2 separate regions of the Homo sapiens genome follow, and region 1 is linked to region 2. The links are contacts of gene promoters, found by promoter capture Hi-C in blood cells and fetal thymus (Javierre and others, 2016). All regions are on one chromosome and are shown on one strand. Each heading gives the region's core, a stretch centred on a gene start or on the middle of the fragment in contact. The rest is flanking DNA. Distances are from core to core; before and after follow the strand shown.

Region 1 (5,054 bases), core at 2,555-5,054, 140 kb before region 2:
AATTGGATACTCCCAGGTCATAGTGTCTACTATCGGGAATGTAAAAGCTGAGCTGATTAAATTTTATCTTTTTCTTGGAGCTATTTCATCCTTGTAAAACCAGTCCCTGACAGTACCTATCCTTGAGAGCCAGCCTTTGTGGAAAGTATAGCATTTCAAAAGCAAAGACTTTTCTTACAGTTGGAGTAGATTCTACCATGACTTCTAGAGTTACTGTAACGATGAAGCTCTTCCCTCTTCCTGTACCGGTCGCTGATTTCACTGGTGATATTGTTGGCTTTTTAAGAACATGGAAGAGTTGAAAGTTGGATCAATGTTTGCTTTTTTTTTTTTGAGGGGATGATTTGTAATTTTCCAGACCTGACTCAGGGCTCACTCATCTCTCTTGTTAAGGACACCCCTTGGAACGTGACGAATATAATCAGGTCTCTGGTTCCCTTTCAGACTTTCTGCTGACCCCTCTGTCACCCACTGCCAGTCAGGGCAGTCCCTCATTCTGCGTTGGGAGTCTGGAAGAAGACTCTCCCTTCCCTTCCTTTGCCCAGGTAAATCCTTTGCTTGTGAAGCAGCCCAGGGGTATTTAACATGAACTCTGCTGCTCATTATTATGGGAACCTCCTCCAGGGATTGTTACCTCTCATTCTAATACGGCTGGACAAATTGAGTCATCTGATGGGTAGGAGGGAAGTTAACTGCCTGTCGGAGCTTTATGCAGCATGGAGTTGGTTGAGGGCAGATTATGTCATGGACGTCCGCTCTGTTGGAAAAGGAGAGACTTAACAGGCTAATGTTGCACTGACTCTAATAATCATGGGAGGCATTCTTAAGAGGAAAGCTCATGGATTTAGTCCTCAGATGTTACTGTAGACGTACCCAGGAAAGAGGCCAAGAATAGCTGAGGCAGAATCAGAGTTTAGAATATTTTAAAAATCATTTGATAACTTGTGTACTGGATACTATTGTAGGGGCTGGGGATACAGCATCAGTTTTAACTGGTCTCTGGTTCTAGGACCTCTGATTCAGGTGGTATTTATCTGTTACATAAAATGAGCCATTTCTCTTCACTTTGAGAGGGGAAGATTGTCTTGGTTATACTGCACCTAGCCAAAGCAGCTTCCTTGGAGCTGGGTGGGGGAACGATAGGCTAGTGAGGCTTGCTGTGAAACCACTTTGTTAATCTCTAAGATAACAAGCTAATACTCAGCATTCCTGCATTCAGATAAGTGAGGAAGATGGATGGACAGCTTGACATGTGCCCTTGTAAGAAGTCCGTATAAACTTCTTTGAGGCTAGTGCAGAATCATTATCTTGACAGTTTTTTTTTTTTTTTCCTCTTCTCCAAGACGGAGTCTCCCTGTCCCCCAGGCTGGAGTTCCGTGGCGCGATCTTGGCTTGCTGTAAGCTCCGCCTCCCGGGTTCACGCCATTCTCCTGCCTCAGCCTCCCGAGTAGCTGGGACTATAGGCGCCTGCCACCACGCCCGGCTAATTTTTTGTATTTTTAGTAGAGACAGGGTTTCACCGTATTAGCCAGTAGGGTCTCAATCTCCTGACCTCGTGATCCGCCTGCCTCAGCCTCCCAAAGAGCTGGGATTACAGGCATGAGCCACCATGCCCGGCCATTGACAGTTCTTTAGAGCAGTTGATACGGATCTTTCTTATGTAATTACAGCAGTTTGTACTGAGAAATAAGCAAGAATTGAGCTTTGGTAAGGAGGGTTCCGAAGTCAAGGAACATGAAATAATTGTGGAGGTGAGGTGAGAAGAGAGGGGGATCCTGAAAATTAACTGCTGGACTTAGAGATGATTAACAAGTGGCTCCCAGGAGTTATGCCAAATACTTGTTTTGTTTTGTTTTGTTTTGTTTTGAGTTGAAGTCTTGCTCCTGTCCCCAAGGCTGGAGTGCAATGGCGTGATCTCGGCTCACTGCAACCACCGCCTCCCGGGTTCAAGCAATTCTCCTGCCTCAGCCTCCCGGGTAGCTGGGGTTGGGTTACAGGCGCCTACCACCATGCCCGGCTAATTTTTGTATTTTTAGTAGAGACAGGGTTTTACCATGTTGGCCAGGCTGGTCTAGAACTCTTGACCTCAGGCGATCCACCTGCCTCAGCCTCCCAAAGTGCTGGGATTACAGACATGAACCACTGCGCCTGGCCTTTTTTTTTTTTTTTTTTTTTAAACTAGGCTTTATTGCTATTGCTTTTTTCCTTTGAACTTTATTTTGAAATACAGAGTTGAAAGAATAGTATTATGAACACTTAAACTTTTGACCTAGATTCACTAATTGTTACTATTTTGCTGTTATATATTTGCTTTCTCTTTTTTCTGTGTTGAAAAGAAGTTGCAGATATCCTGAATGATACTTTACCGCTAAGTACTTAGGAGATACATGCCAAAGAAAGTGGGATATTCGCCTATAGAACCACAGTGATCACATTAGAGAAATTCCACTGCCACAGTAATATCTAATATGGTGCATATTTATATCTCCACATTTGTCTCAGCGTCCTTCATTTTCAACTCAGGGCAGAATCCTGTTACTCCCTGCATTTAGTTGTCAAGTCTCTTTAGTCTCCTTTGATCTATAACCGTTCCTTTGCCCATATCCCCTTTTTTTTCCCTTCCATGGCCAGTTGTTTTATAGAATATCCTACAGTTTGGACTTGTTTGATTTCTCATGAATGGATTCAGGTTACATTTAAACATTTTGGTAAGAATAAGACATAGGTGACATTTTGATTACCTTTTAAGAGTAAAACAATTCACATGTCAAACTATTTGGATACTGTCTCAGTCCATTTGTGTGGGTATAAAAGATTACCCGACGCCGAGTCATTTATCAAAAAAAAAAAAAAAGTTTATTTGGCTCATGACTCTGCTGGCTGGAGGACTGGGCATCTGGTGAGTGCCTCAGGCTGCTTCCACTCATGGTACACGAAGTGAAGGGGTCCCTGCTTGTGAAGAGATCACATGGCTAAAGAGGAAGCAAGGAGGGGAGGAGGTGCCAGGCCGTTTTAAACAACCGTGTTCCTGTGCCCAGTTTCAAAATAGCCTTCAGCCAAGCTATTGAAGCAGCCTTTGTGAAACTGGACACACCAGCTACTTCAGATCCCTTCTGTGGTAAGGGCAGAGGCTGGAGTGCCCAGGGTTGTCAAACACACATGTACTGCCATTCCCACTGGGATCCAGTGGCAGACATCACTCATCAGCTCTTTCAGGAATGAATGCGAGAATAGGTCTCCCATCCCCCAGGGAGGGCATTAATCTGTTCATGAGGGGTCCACCCCCATGACCCATACATCTCCCATTAGGTCCCCACTTCCAGCATTGGGGATCAGATTTTAACATGAGGCTTGGGAGGGTCAAATGTCTAAACCGTAGGAGACCCAAACTCCTAGAGACAAAGGGAGAAGTTCACCAAAGTGGAACATAATGAAGAAAGGTTATTTAATGAAATCGGCATCTGCCAACACAAACTCATCTTGAGTAATAGGCATTCCTCACTTTGGAATATATGATTTAAGGACAAGGCATCCCTGCTTGAACCCCATGGGGTTTGTCTCTTGATATTTTTCCAGGAATAAAATGTTCTCTGCCTTTTAAGTGGCATATTTGCAGTTGGGGCTCATAGTGGCCTTCAGCAGTTACAAAGCTGGCCTTGGCCAAGTGGAATGAAAATTCCTCAGGGGCATGAGGATTGTTCTGATTTTATTGTCCTTGCAGGAATTTTACTGGCCTGTGGTTGGATCTGAAAGTTAATGATGAAGGAGCTATTGGAAAAGCAGACTAAAAGGTAGTGAGGGGCTGTTGAAGCGGTGTCAGGAGAGAGTTTAGTTAGTTTTCATGGCTTTAGGTAACTGAAGTTTAGTAGCCATGTGGTTTAAAACTGGAGGGTACTTGGCTGGGCACGGTGTCTCATGCCTGTAATCCCAGCACTTTGGGAGGCCAAGGCGGGCAGATCACCTGAGGTCAGGAGTTCGAGACCAGCCTGACCAACATGGAGAAACCCCGTCTTTACTAAAAATACAAAAATTAGCCGGGCGTGGTGGTGCATGCCTATAATCCCAGCTACTCAGGAGGATGAGGCAGGAGAATCACTTGAAGCTGGGAGGCAGAGGTTGCGGTAAGCCAAGATTTGCGCCATTGCACTCCAGCCTGGGCAACAAGAGCGAAACTCCATCTCGAACAAAACAAAAAAAACTGGAGGGTACTAGGCCGGGCACAGTGGCTCACGCCTATAATCCCAGCACTTTGGGAGGCCAAGGTGAGGGATTAACTGAGGTCAAGAGTTCAGGACCAGCCTGGCCAACATGGTGAAACCCCGTCTCTACTAAAAAAAAAAAAATCCAAAAATTAGCCAGGCGGGTGCCTGTAATCCCAGCTACTTGGGAGGCTGAGACAGAATTGCTTGAACCTGGGAGGCACAGGTCACAGTGAGCCAATATTGTGCCATTGCACGCCAGCCTGGGCAACAAGAGCTAAACTGTCTAAAAAACAAAAACTGGAGGGTACTACTCACTGCTTCCTCCGACAGCTCGATGTTTTTAGGGGTCCCAGGAAGGGCAGAAAAACTTAACCAGAAAGTCGGAATTCCCAATTTGAGGGTCTCAGTAAGAATCTCTTGTGCCTTCTGTGCAGTGTTCTTTACCCATTTCCTAAGGAACAAACAGCTTATGGTTTACTACCTTGTGGGTTTCATTGCCATTTCCATTAGCCAGGATATAGAGGACATGACTAGAACAGTGTGTTAAGGAGAGAAGTACCTGGAAAATCTTTTCAAAGGTGATAGTTGGTTCTGTGCCTCTCCAGTTAGTCAAGGTAGGTCTGAAAAAGAAGTTGGACCAGCTACTTAAATTCTCTCCCCCACTTCTTTCCCACTTTGGCAGATGCTGAGGGTTGGAAAAGCAAAAGCAGATGTGTGGCCCAAAACTGCTCCAAAGAAAGGTGAGGATGGTCCACTGGTGAAGGGGGAGTTTGGCTTCTTTCCATAAAAGGCTGTTTCTAGAAAAAGAGTTGTTTCTATAGTTTTAACACTGGTATTTTTTAGATGAGAACA
Region 2 (4,472 bases), core at 1,956-4,455:
CCTCCACCTCCCAGGTTCAAGCGATTCTCCTGCCTCAGCCTCCCAAGTAGCTGGGACTAAAGGAGTGTGCCACCATGCCCGGCTAATTTTTGTAGTTTTAGTAGAGACGGGGTTTCACCATATTGGTCAGGCTGGTCTCGAACTCCTGACGTTGTGATCTGCCTGCCTCGGCTTCCCAAAGTGCTGGAATTATAGCCGTGAGCCACTGCACCTGGCCGGTATTTTCTTTTTAAAAAAGTATACAAGCAGCCCATGATTATATGCTTGAGATAAAATAGTACAGAAGTAGTAGTTCTAAATAATGTCAAAAGTGAATATATTTCCTTTAGTCTCTTCTGATACTCTCCTCCCCAGACGTAATCAAAGTTAATGTTTTAATGTATATCCAGACCTCTTCCTTTACAGTTACAAATGCATATTTATATTTATGTCTATGTCTATCTGTGTTTTTTTTTTTTTTTTTTTTGAGACAGGGTCTCACGCCCATGGCCCAGGCTAAAGTGCAGTGGTGCGATCTCAGCTCACACAGCCTCGGCTTCCTGGGCTCCGGTGATTCTCCCACCTCAGCCTCCTGAGTAGCTGGGACTACTGGCATGCACCACCACGCCCAGCTAATTTTCGTATTTTTAGTAGAGACGGGGTTTTGCCATGTTTCCCAGGCTGGTCTCGAACTCCTGGGCTCAAGCAATTTGCTCACCTTGGCCTCCCAAAGTGCTGGGATTACAGGCATGAACCACCACACTCGGCCCACATCTAAATATTTATATACTTTTTATTTTAAATAAATGGGATTCGCGGCTGGATGCAGTGAGCTGTGATTGTGCCACTGCACTGCAGCCTGGGTGACAAGAGTGAGACCCTGTCTTAAATAAATAAATACACAAATATGACTCTGTGCCTTGCTTTTTGCCCTACTTAATATATGTTTGAGATCTTTCCATACTAATATATATGTCTCATTTTTTAAAACAGCTCTATGTAACGTGAATGGATACAAATGTAATTTATTGTAATTTGTCAATATTACAAATCTCTGTGCATGCAGGTAGGGTAAATTCCTAGATGTGGAATTGCAGGTGAAGAGGTTACATTTGCCATCATCCCTAGAAAGAGAAAAGCCATGGTCCAGGTAACTAGTCTTGGTGCTATGAGAACAAACCTTCCGTAAATAAGTATATGGGAAATGACCACATGCTAAACCACCCTCTTGGCCATTCACAATCAAGTAGCATATTAAAAGTTCTGGAAATTCTTCAGTAACCACTCTGTTGAGTGGTTTAAAAAGAGTTGTTTGTAAAAGGAAAGACTTTAATTCTTTGTACACATTTATTAAAATCTCCCTGAACAGTTAGTTAAATGCCACCATATACTAATCTCTCAAAGACAGTACAGCATTTGGGTAGGAATTTGGCCACACACTATGCCACCCAATTGGGCAGCTGGGGTGGGGTCAGGTTTGGACTTTGTCCAGGAACCAAGAGATGCCTGTCTTGGTGGCTTTGGTGAGAGGGACTCAGCAAGCAAGGCCTGGCAAGAACGTCAAGAGGCTCTGGGGGACGGTTGCAATTTTACTCTAGCCTGGCTGAGAGGTGATGTCAGACCTAGCAGACACACTGCATCAATCAGGCCCAGGCCTCCAACACAGAACAGTGCAGATCTAGAATCCCTAGAGAAGGAGCCCCTCAGGGTGGAAGACGGTAGACCACATCCCCCTGTTGACCCACTTCTGGCTAATTGGTGAGGTCATGGCTAACTTCCAAAGCTCAGTGCAGATATTGCCTCTGAAAACTTCCGAAGCCCTCAAGCTTTTACAGCCAGGTCAGAATAAACCACTCCTGTGTGTTCTCCTAGCACCTTTGCTGCATCTCTTAGTGCAGTCAGTGAATCTAGTTTGTCTTCCAGTTCATACTAACCTACCTTGTGAAAAGGAAGGGTCACATAATGAATTGTGTACTTTACAGTCTTCTCTAACAAAAGTGGGAGCTCTTCCATAGTGGGATACTGTTCAGGCTCTCATTCAATCATTACTGAGCACCTACCACGTGTCAGGCATTAGCTGAACTGCTGGGAATTCAGGGGTGAGGCAGACCCAATCCCTGCCCTCACTCTTACATCTCCTGTAGCCTAGCCCAATGTCTAGCCCAGGGCCTGGCACAGTAGGGCTTACGGATGGCAATCTCATTGGAAAGTTTGTCTTGAAACTGCCTTTGCAAAACAAACACTGCTTTAACTTACCTTCTATGCTAAATATATTAATAAACATTTTCTCAAGATGCATTGTCCACTAATAGCTTAGTGTTGAAGAACAGGCCTTGGGTCAGATGGACCTGGATTAAAATCCCTGTTCCCTCCTCTTACTGCTTGAGGGACTTTGGACATGTTACCTGACTTCTCTGAACTTGAGCTTCCTGATCTGTAAAATGGAGACAGTAATACCTCACAGGGTTGTTGTGAGGTGAGGAGCCTGCCCTATAGCAAGTGTCCTGCCATATAGCAAGTGCGCAGTAAACACTGGCCATTCTTCTTCTTGGTGTGATTACTGGGAATTAGTTGCCATTGTGCTGTTGGGACTGGTGACAGAACTCTTGGATTGAGAATGCCGAGATGGTGCACGGAAGATTCTGTGTGCTCTTTCAGACCAGGAGGAGGATGAGGAGGAGGAAAGTTTATATGACGTAAATTCATTTGACCGTAAGATATGTATTTAAACATCGTGGAGGATCTTGGGGGTCTGATGGGGAGTGGGGTTGCTGAAGCTCCAGCCACCCCTAGGCCCTCCACCTGGCAGGACCAAAGTTGGGGCAGTAGCCGAAGCACCGCCCCCCGGGCCCCGCAGGAGTGTGCAGTCACCCAGTTAGGCCTATCTTGGCCTGCCCATCACTCCTGGCCTGCGGTCTCCTAACCCTGTGGCAGCAGCAGCATTCCCTGAATGGATCGAAGGCTGCCATGGTGTCGTCCGCTGAATTGCTATAGGAGTCAGCCCAGGGCTGCTCATGTGCACCTCAGGTTGCTGATGGCAGCTCTAGTTATTTGGGGATGGAAGTTTGGGGAGAGTGGGCCTTGGTCCACCCTGTGCGAAAGGGAATTCCACAGCCCCCCGGGCGCCCGCCCCCGCCCCCGCCCCGCCCCCTCCCCGCCCCTTCCCCGCCGGGCCCCGGGCCCCGCCCCCGCTCTCCATAGTTACCGCGCTGTGGAGGCGGCGGCCATCTTGGCGGCGGAGCGATGAGCGGGTCTAACCCGAAGGCTGCGGCCGCGGCGTCGGCGGCTGGGCCCGGGGGGCTGGTGGCTGGCAAGGAGGAGAAGAAGAAGGCGGGCGGCGGCGTCCTGAACCGCCTGAAGGCGCGGCGGCAGGCGCCCCACCACGCGGCCGACGACGGCGTCGGGGCAGCGGTCACGGAGCAGGAGCTGCTGGCGCTGGACACCATCCGGCCCGAGCACGTCCTGCGCCTCAGCCGGGTCACCGAGAGTGAGTGCCGCGCGGGCCGCGCCCTCCCCTCGCGCCGTGCCCCGGCTCCCGGAGCCTTCAGCGGACCCGGCCACTTGACCAGCGCGGGGGTCCCCGCCAGACCCCCTCGGCCGGCCGGGCCGCGCTTCCCGCTGCCCCGCCGGCCGGGCTTTGCTCCCGCCACGCTCACGTAGCTCTGGTGGGGAAGGACTCTCCTGGGCTGGACCGCATTCCTGTGAGTCCGGCCACGCTAGGATGCCCTTCGGCCGGTCGGCTCCCCAGCTCTGCCGGACCTGTTTGGGTAGAGGGCCCCGTTCAGCTGAACTGGATCCTCCTGAGCCGGCCGGGGGCCGAGGTCCCCTAATAAATGGGCCCCTGGGCCCTCAGCCTGGAACCCCCGGCCATCAGTGAAGTTCCCGCTCAGCCAGGCTCCCCCAGCCCTCTGGCAGGCCAGAAGCCTTACCTGCTTCCTCCGCCCTGGCCCCATGGCAGCCCTCCCCCATTGCAGCCTGCCCGGCCTCCCTCCCTCTTTGGGTCGGGAGCGTTGCCCCTTAGTGTGCAGATGGGTTCTTCCTCAAAACACATAGCCGTGGCATTTCCTGCTCATTTAAAACTGTGCCACATTAAAACAAAAATAAAGTTTCAGTTTGTGTACAGACTCCGACATGTGAATCCTGCTTTTGACATTCTCGTGAATTAAGAATGATTTCAGAGTTTCAGAAATGCGTTTCCTGCACAAAAGGCAACCATCCTAAGCTTTTTCGTTGATAGGAGGATGGGTGGGAAGAAAAATGTTGCCCAGTCCCTGCCCTGGGTGATCTCCCTTTTTCTGTTCTCTGCCAAGCCAGTCCCTGACTTGACGTCTTTTCTCTTGCTGCTGTTTTCCCTGCAGGAGTGTGCACTCACCTAGTTAGGCCTATCTTGGCCTGCCCATCACTCCTGGCGTGCAGTCTCCTAACCCTGTGGCAGCAGCAACATTCCCTGGATGGATCGAAGGCTGCCATGGTGTCTGCTGAGCTGCTATAGC

Evidence for each region. The method cuts DNA at HindIII sites, captures the fragments that hold promoters and counts their contacts. A CHiCAGO score of 5 or more calls a contact.
Region 1: a fragment that was not itself captured here is called in contact with the fragment with the promoter of UNC119B in region 2 in 7 of 17 cell types (M1 macrophages, naive CD8 T cells, M2 macrophages and 4 more); the score reaches 8.5 in M1 macrophages.

The regions. Positions count from the first base shown.
Region 1 is chr12:120,570,747-120,575,800 of GRCh38, forward strand. RNF10 (ring finger protein 10) reads left to right here. Exons shown (of 17, transcript NM_014868.5): 14 at 445-545; 15 at 4,885-4,942; 16 at 5,046-5,054. Among named protein-coding and RNA genes, the nearest start is that of POP5, 8.1 kb to the right of the region's middle. The HindIII fragment of the contact is 8,105 bases long and covers 1-5,054 here.
Region 2 is chr12:120,707,253-120,711,724 of GRCh38, forward strand. It overlaps UNC119B (unc-119 lipid binding chaperone B), which reads left to right and starts at 3,206. Exons shown (of 5, transcript NM_001080533.3): 1 at 3,206-3,466. The coding sequence starts at 3,223. It overlaps LOC124903036 (a long non-coding RNA gene), which reads right to left and starts at 3,254. Exons shown (of 2, transcript XR_007063491.1): 1 at 3,185-3,254; 2 at 2,681-3,022. RefSeq lists silencers at 3,096-3,155, 3,246-3,515 and an enhancer at 3,123-3,965. The HindIII fragment of the contact is 2,396 bases long and covers 1,804-4,199 here.